Regions from separate parts of the Homo sapiens genome. Here region 2 is linked to region 1. Evidence: promoter capture Hi-C in human tissues and cell types (Jung and others, 2019). All regions are on one chromosome and are shown on one strand. Each heading gives the region's core, a stretch centred on a gene start or on the middle of the fragment in contact. The rest is flanking DNA. Distances are from core to core; before and after follow the strand shown.

What was found. Contacts are between HindIII fragments. The study calls those that stand out against the background at their distance.
Region 2: a fragment that was not itself captured here is called in contact with the fragment with the promoter of ZCCHC14 in region 1 in 1 of the 25 tissues and cell types used here (spleen).

What each region holds. Positions count from the first base shown.
Region 1 is chr16:87,490,644-87,494,991 of GRCh38, forward strand. It overlaps ZCCHC14 (zinc finger CCHC-type containing 14), which reads right to left and starts at 2,381. Exons shown (of 13, transcript NM_015144.3): 1 at 1,026-2,381. The coding sequence starts at 1,595. ZCCHC14-DT (ZCCHC14 divergent transcript) reads left to right here and starts at 3,544. Exons shown (of 4, transcript NR_110943.1): 1 at 3,544-3,592. RefSeq lists a silencer at 2,320-2,499. The HindIII fragment of the contact is 17,996 bases long and covers 1-4,348 here.
Region 2 is chr16:87,873,480-87,877,827 of GRCh38, forward strand. No RefSeq gene overlaps it. Among named protein-coding and RNA genes, the nearest start is that of SLC7A5, 6.1 kb to the left of the region's middle. RefSeq lists enhancers at 2,515-3,042, 4,184-4,348. The HindIII fragment of the contact is 7,274 bases long and covers 1-4,348 here.

The DNA.
Region 1 (4,348 bases), core at 1,131-3,630:
TGCCCTCCCACTCAAAGTCAGCCTGGGTTTTGTTTCTAAGGGTCGCCAATAAATAGGTTTCACGGGCATTTAAGGCTCTGGGAGTCTTTTTCTGTCTGTTACAGGTAGCCCGGCTCTTAAAAACGATCACACACAACGTTCACAAGCATGTGCACATTCATACACACGTGTGCACATATACATGCCCACATGCGACACACGCGTACATCATACAGCATGCACGTGTCCATAAATGAGCTCACACGGACAGCCATGTCCCGCGCCCAGGCCCCCAGCGACACAGGCCCCAAGCAGGGCCTCCACCTGTGTGGAGGGAGCGGCTCAGACGGGGAAGCCCCAGCGCCTTGCAATGTTCACCTCACCGGCGGCTTCTGGCGTGGCCACGGCTCCTTCCTTTTCTGGTAATAAATACCAGATTTGGGGAAACCAAGGCGCCGCAATGTGTGTTATCTGTCACCCAAGGGCCCCATTAAGGGGACAAAGGCCTTATCGCGTTTGCAGCCGGCTAAGTGAAAGGAGGGCACCTGGGACTGTGAGCTCTGACCGCGGACGTCTCCCGCACCGCTCCCGCGGATCCTCGGACCCAGGGCCCCTGCAGCCGCTCCTGCCCAAGGGGCGCGAGGCGGAGGTGTGGAGGCTTTGGGGCACGCAGAGGGGACTGAGGGTGTGGGCTCAGGGCCGCGGTGCGGTCTTGGGGCTTAAAGTGCAGACTTAGGGTGAGGAGTGCGGGCTTAGGATGGGGGCTTGGGATGTACGGCGGAGGCTTGGGATGTACGGCGGAGGCTTGGGATGTACGGTGGAGGCTTGGAGAGGTGGGGCACACATTTGGGGTGCGACATAGAGGCTTAGGATGGGGCTTGGGATACGGGCTGGGGGCTCGTGGTGCAGGTTGGAGACCTGGGTGGGAGCTCTCAGTGCAGGCTGGAGGCGTGGGTCGGGGGGTCGCGGTGCAGGCTGGAGGCTTGGAGTGCAGAGTTGGGGATGCAGACTTGGGGTACAGGGCAGAGCTCGGGGCGGGCACGCACCTTGTGGCAGGCTGGGCAAGTGGGCAGCGCGCCGCCCGGCCCGGGCGCGCCCTTGCCGCCGTGGCCCCCGCCGCCGTTCAGGCTGCTCTGGATCTGCGTGAGCTCCTGGCGCAGCACCTGCTTCTGGTGGAAGCTGAAGGCCGGGTGGTTGGAGGCCATGGTGAACAGCAGCAGGAACTCATCGCCCGTGCGGCCCTCGTTAAGCTGCAGCCCGTAGTTGTGGATGATGGAGTCGATGTGCGTGAGCGTGCGGTAGAGCACGCCCGCCGCCTCGCGCTGCTCCGAGCCCAGCAGCGCCAGCGACACCAGCAGCTTGCTGCGCACCACCTCGTCCGTCAGGTTGGTGAGGCTGCCCAGGTCGGCCGGGTTGTTGGCCTTGATCTCCGAGTCGCGCAGCGAGTGGTAGTCCTTGCGGGCCAGGTCCTCCAGGCACGAGCCGAGGAAGCGAAGCTCGAGCGGGATGCACAGGTCCAGCAGGCCGCACAGGAACTCCACGCGCTGCGGCGACGGCAGCTCCGAGAACCAGCGGTACACGCCGTCCCTCTGCAGCGGGCAGCGCTTCTCCACCATGCTGCCGCCCGCGCCGCGCCGCGACCCGGGGCCGGGGACCGCGCGGGGGCGGCCGGGGGGCGCCGGGGGCCGCGGCCGGGGCGCGCCGGGACCGGGGACGCGCGGGCCGGGGCCGGGTCCGGGCGAGGGCGCGCGGGCGCCGCGGGCCGGGCGGGCGCCGGGGCGGGGGCGGGGACCGGGGCCGGGCAAGGCTCCCGTCAGGGGCCGGCGGGCGGGCGCGCGCGGGGCGCCGGGGGGGCCCGGGGCGGCCGGGGCGGCCGGGGGCGGCGAGCGGCCTCGGGCCCCCCGCTCACGGGGAGGCGCCTTCCCCGCGCCCGTGCCCAGCGGCGGCCGGTGCGCGGCGGCGGCGGCGGCTGCTCCTCGTCGTCGTCGTCGTCGTCGCCCGGGAGGCGGCCGCCCCCATCTCCCCCCGCGCCGCAGGGTCTGTCACTGCGGGCCGCCCCCCGACGGAGCCGCCCCGGCCATGCCGTCGCCGCCGCCCGCGCCTCCGCCCAGGCCGGCCGTTACCCCGGGCCGCGGGCGCGGCGTCGCCGCCTGGGGAGCGCTGGGGGCCGCGGCCGCGAAACGGACGCTGGAGGGGGAGGGACGCGCGGCGGGAGGCGCGGAGGGATCCGGCCGGGACTTGCCGGCCTTGCTGCTCCCGCGCGGCGGACGGATCCGGGCCCGAGCGCGGCGGCGGCGGCGACGGCGACGGCGACGGCGACGGCGACGGCGGAGGAGGCGCCGGCCGAGGAGCGGAGGGATCGTCGCGCTCGCGGCTGACGGGCGGCCGGGATCAGCAGAAGTGGGCGGGGTGGCCGCCTCTCGCGACAGCCCGGGCCTGCCGGGCCCGTCCCCCCCCCACTGATTGGCTCAGGCGGCCCGTTCTCGGCCCGTGATTGTGCCGGGTCCCCAATCCCATTCGCCCGTTCCGCGGCCACGCCTCCCTGGGGGCTGTCGATCATGTTGGGGCCACCGCCTCCCGTCCCTCGGCGGCCGTCAAGACGCGATTGGTCCGCGGAATCGGAGAGGCGGAAAACCCGGGCTGGATTTCTGGTTGCTTTTGTTCCCGCAAATTTGCGTGGAGCATTGTTTTTCGGCGAAAACGGGGCGTTCGGCCTTCCTGCTTTATTTTTGAGCGGTGTAAGAGGGAGGTAGTGGGTATCTTCGAGAAACGGCCGCCGCGGGGTCCGGAGCCCCGGGTTCCAATCCCGGGTCGGCCACTGCAAAGCTGTGTGACCTTGGGCGAGTCACTTGGCCTCTCTGAGCCCCAGGCGCCTCCCCGGGAAAAAGAGGGTAATAATAACCGCCCCCGAGGTTTGTGCGAAGGTGTTGAGCTCACAGAGGGCCGGCACCGGCACTTTTGAGGCGGCTGACTTGCCCTGGGGGTGTGATGGGAGGTGCAAGCTTTCTCCAAAAGCCTCGTCCAAATGGAGCCTTTAAATCCGCCTTCTTTCCGCGGCTACTTCACCAGCTCGCCAAACGCAGAAAATGCAAACACAGGGGAGGGGGCAAGGGAGCTGACCTGGCTGGAAGTAAACAGAAACGCCACCCTCCCCTGGCACTTGCATTGGCACCGGATTGCAGGTGGGGGAAGGGCCGGTGCACCCAACCACCTTTAAATCCCACCACTTACACACAGGCATAGAAGTAGAGCCGCGGGGGCTGGACGCTCATTCCTCCCCTGCCCTTCCCCTAGAGCGCTGCTTTGAATGTCTGTTGATCTAGAACGGGGTCTGTTCATTCATGGGTTCCAGGTCCCAAGCGCCCGGGGGCAGCTGAGAGCAAAGCTGGCGCCCTCCCTACCCTGTGGAGCTTACACTCTGGTTCTGGGCAGTGCACACTAGAGATTGGTTAAATCAATGAATGAACTTTTTCAGGATATGGTCCAAGGTGCTGAAAACTTCCTAACAAAACTCTTCAGCCGAATCTGGCACGCCTGTGGTTCCAGCTACTGGGTAGACCGAGGCAGGAGGATCGCTTGAGGCCAAGAGTTTAAGACCAACCTGGGCAACATGGTGAGACCCCCCCTCCCCGCCCCAGTCGCTCCAAAACAAACAAACCCCACATTCTCCAGTCTTAGGTCTTCGAGGATGAACAGAGATTGCAGAAAGGCATGGTTGGGAACAAAAAAAATTGCTCTCCACTCCCCCAGCCCCCTCCACACCTTGGGCACATTTCCCTGGAGCTGCCCCAGTGTTCTTTGTCAGTGTAGGAAGAAGCAAAAATCTAAATGGAGTCAGGATGGCCTCCCACATGGGCACAAGGGCAAGGCTGGGGACAGTTGGGTCTCCTCATCTTATTTCCCAGGTCTAGGCTGATTTCTATTAATAATTAAATTAATCGTCGTTGTCCTGGACCTCACTTCTTAATGTGATTCCAGGGAACTGGCCACATTCCAAAATTCATAATCTAAGGTAGTGAAAGAACGTGAACATCAAGACAGTTTGGCTGGGCTCAGAGGCTCACATCTGTAATCCCAGTACTTTGGGAGGCCGAGGGTAGATCCCTTGAGCCCAGGAGTTCGAGACCAGCCTGGGCAACATGGCGAAATCCCATCTCTACAAAAACTACAAAAATTAGCCAGATGTGGTGGCATGTGCCTGTAGTCCCAGGTACTTGGGAGACTGCAGTGGAAGGATTGCCCGAGCCCGGGAAAGGGAGGTTGCGGTGAATGGGGATCCCGCCACTGCACTCCAGCCTGGGTGACAGCGTAAGACTCTGTCTCAAAAACAAAACAAAACAAAAGATTCATTTCTTATTGATAAAGCAAG
Region 2 (4,348 bases), core at 471-2,970, 380 kb after region 1:
GCACCTGCCACCACACCTGGCTAATTTTTGTATTTTTAGTAGAGGCTGGGTTCCACCAGGTTGACCACGCTGGTCTCGAACTCCTGGTGATCTGCCCACCTCGGCCTCCCAAAGTGCTGGGATTACAGGCGTGAGCCACCATGCTCGGCAACAATCCCAGGTCTTTAGACAACAAACTCAAACAATTGTCAACCAGAAAATGTTTAAATTGGTTGGGCGCGGTGGCTCACACTTGTAATCCCAGCGATTTGGGAACTTTGGGAGGCCGAGGCGGGGGGATCTCGAGGTCATGAGTTAAAGACCAGCCTGGCCAACATGGTGAAACCCCATCTCTACTAAAAATATAAACATTGGCCGAGTGCGGTGGCTCATGCCTGTAATCCCAGCACTTTGGGAGGCCGAAGCAGGCAGATCACTTGAGGTCAGGAGTTTAAGACCAGCCTGGCCAACATGGTGAAACCCCGTCTCTACCAAAAATACAAAAAAATTAGCTGGGCGTGGTGGTGGGCGCCTGTAGTCCCAGCTACTCGGGAGGCTGAGGCAGGAGAATGGCATGAACGTGGGAGGCGGAGGTTGCAGTGACGGGAGATCGCACCACTGCACTCCAGCCTGGGTGACAAAGCGAGACTCCGTCTCAAAAAAAAAATATATATATATATATATATATATATACACACATATATATACACACATATATACACATATATACACACATATATATACACATATATACACACATATATATACATATATGTATATACACATATATACATATATACGTATATATACACATATATACACATATATATACACACACACACATATATATACACACACATATATATATATAAACATCAGCTGGGCGTGTTGGTGCACCGCCTGTAATGGGAGGCTGAGGCAAGAGAATCGCTTGAAACCAGAAGGCAGAGGTTGCAGTGAACCAAGATTGTGCCACTGCACTCCAGCCTGGGTGGAAGAGCGAAACTCTTGTCTCAAAAAAAAAAAAAAAGAAAATGTTTACATTTACCTCTAGCCTGGAAGCCCCCCTCCTGCTTTGAGTTGTCCCGCCTTTCTGAACCAAACCAATGTATTTTTTAAATGTACTTGATTGATGTCTCATGTCTCCTTAAAATGTATAAGACCAAGCTGCACCCCAACCACCTTGGGCACATGCGGTCCGGACCTCCCGAGGCTGTGTCACGGGTGCGCCCTCAACCTTAGCAAAATACGCTTTCTAAATTAAAGGAGGCCTGTCTCAGATTTGCTGGCTTCACAACCCTTAATTGAAGTGGGGCTTCCTGGGGCCGCCTCTCTCCTGTGAGTCCCCTGCCGGGCTGGTTCTCAGTCACAGGGGAGAAATGCCTGCATCTTTTAACATAGCAAGGGTCCTTGCTTCTTCTGGAGGTTGTTTTTGAAAGCCATGCTTTTATTATGCTCAGAGGTGAGCTTTTCCTATCTGCATGCTTGACAAGGTGGGGCTGCCCTGAGTACGATCAGAAATTCCGTTCTGTTTCCAGGCAGATAGGTGTGTAGGGCAGCCACTCAGTCAGTGTTCGGCCTTAAAGACTCTTGCCAGTCAAGGAAGACGACCGAGGCAAGTCTCCGTCATTTTAGCTTTAAATGCCAACATTAGGGACGCGCACCTGAGAGACTGGTCTATGCCTTTCTCCGAAGATGATTTTGAGGGCTTCAATATTGAAAGGGGGAAGGGCAGGATATTGGGCAGTACACAATTTTCATGTGAAGGGGGTAGGGGAAAATTCAAGTTTTTGTCTGGTTTAGTGACTCTGCCGTTTCACGTAAGATACCCTAGACGATAGGGCAGCGGAAACAATGAGATATGCATTTGCTTCAGGTGGGCGGAGGGATGACTCAGTTCTGCCCCTCGTCCCAGCACCTGTGAAGATAAGCTAACGGTTCACATTGCCAGGGTGAACTTTAACAGAAGCGCTTAGGGTAAAGATCTTGGAGCCCACAAGGAATTTCCTTATGGGCAAAATGTGAGGGAGGTGTGTCGCTTTTCATCTTTTTTTTTTTTTTTTTTTGAGACGGAGTCTCACTCTGTCACCAGGCTGGAGTGTAGTGGGTCGATCTCAGCTCACTGCAACCTCTGCCTCCCGGGTTCAACTGATTCTTCTGCCTCAGTCTCCCAAGTAGCTGGGATTACAGGCGCCTGCCACCATGCCCGGCTAAGTTTTGCAGTTTTAGTAGGGACGGGGTTTCATCATGTTGGCCAGGCGGGTCTGGAATTCCTAACCTCAAGTGATCCACCCGCCTTGGCCTCCCAAAGTGCTGGGATTACAGGGGTGAGCCACCAAGCCCAGCCAAACTTTTCATCTCTGTAGCTGTTTGTTAAATAATTAGGAGCCGAAACAGGAGGCTGGTTCCCATGACACGGTCACCAGCTTCACTTTTCCCTTTCGTTAGCAAGTGTGGGGTCCCAGGATTTATGTTCCTTTCACACTCTCTATGCCATTTAATTTTTGCAGCAACTATAGTTAGTTGTCATTTATGGTTGGAGAAAAAGGGCAGTTCAGTAAGTGGCCAAGCCCAGCTTCAGACCCAGGGCAGGCCTTTAATCCTCGTGGCAATGCTGACTGCCACGCTGATGGCGCCACTTACATAGGCAGCCAGATTCATAAGCATGCGGATTCTCCCAGTTAAAAGAGAATTTTGGCCGGGGGCGGTGGCTCACGCCTGTAATCCCAGCACTTTGGGAGGCTGAGGTGGGCAGATCACAAGGTCAAGAGTTCAAGACCAGCCTGGCCAACATGGTGAAACTCCGTCTCTACCAAAAATACAAAAATTAGCCTGGCGCAGTGGCAGGCACCTGTAATCCCAGCTACTCGGGAGGCTGAGGCAGGAGAATTGCTTGAACCCAGCAGGCAGAGGTTGCAGTGAGCCAAGATTGTGCCACTGCACTCCAGCCTGGGCAACACACTGAGAATCCATCTAACAACAAAAAAAAGAGAACTTCATTTCAGCTGCCCCTGGTGGCACCTTGAAAGCCTCATTGCCTCTTCACTGGAAACATCCACCATTCTTGTTAAAGAAAAGACACTCATGACTTTCCTTCACCGAATCCTTCTAGCTTCTGTTTGAACACTTGGGTAGTCCCCCCACCCGTTTCCTGAAGTTCGTATGGGGGAACGGTAAACAGTGTCCATGCCTGCAAGTAAAATCCGAAGCCCTGCGATTGCTCAGTAACAGCTAGGAGCAAGGTTAGGGATTGTAGGGCCAGATTTTTTGCTTAGGTTCAACTAGGTAAAATAAAAATAGACTTTGCATGCATTTCAGGCACTGGGCTGATGACCGGCCACCAGGGAGGCTCCGCCCCACTTCTTAACTTTGGCCCCAACGTTAGTCTTGTTGCTGCTCTCAGATGTGCTCTGCGTGTCAAAGATGACTTGGAGGCTGGGCGCTGTGGCTCATGCCTGTAATGCCAGCCCTTTGGGAGACCAAGGTGGGAGAATTTCTTGAGCCCAGGAGTTCAAGACCAGCCTGGACAACATAGGGAGACCCCGTCTCTACAAAAAATACAAAAACTAGCCCAGCGTGGTGGTGGTGCACCTGTAGTTCCAGCTGCCGGGGAGGCTGAGGTAGAAGGATCACCTGAGATCAGGAAGGTTGAGGCTGCTGTGAGCTGAGATCATGCCACTGCACTCCAGCCTAGGCGACAGAGCGAGACCGGTCTTTTTTTTTTTTTGAGACGGAGTCTCGCTCTGTCACCCAGGCTGGAGTGCAGTGGCGCGATCTCGGCTCACTGCAAACTCTGCCTCCCGGGTTCACGCCATTCTCCTGCTTCAGCCTCCTGAGTAGCTGGGACTACAGGTGCCCGCCACCATGCCTGGCTAATTTTTTGTATTTTTAGTAGAGACGGGGTTTCACCGTGTTAGCCAGGATGGTCTTGATCTCCTGACCTCGTGATCCACCCTCCTCGGCCTCCCAAAGTGCTGGGATTACAGGCTTGAGCCACCGCGCCTGGCGAGACTGGTCTTGAAAAAAAAAAAAAAAAGATGACATGGAAGCAACAGTAGGAGCCGGGGTCAGAGTTCAGGCCCGTCCATCCGTGGATGATGGATAAACCCAGTGTAGTCCGCCATCCCTTGGAGCGTCATTCAGCCGCACACAGGAAGACACGCTGCAACGTGCAGGACCCCTGAAAACACTGGGCTGCGTGAAAGGGTCAGTGACCACGAGTTGTATGATTCCGAGTGCACGAATGTCCAGGACAGGCGGATCCAGAGAGATGGACGAGATTCGTGGCTGCTTAGGGCGGGGGGAAGGGGTGATGGAGAGTGAGGGCTGAGTGGATGGGGTCTCTCTTTGGGGTGATAAAATGTCTTGG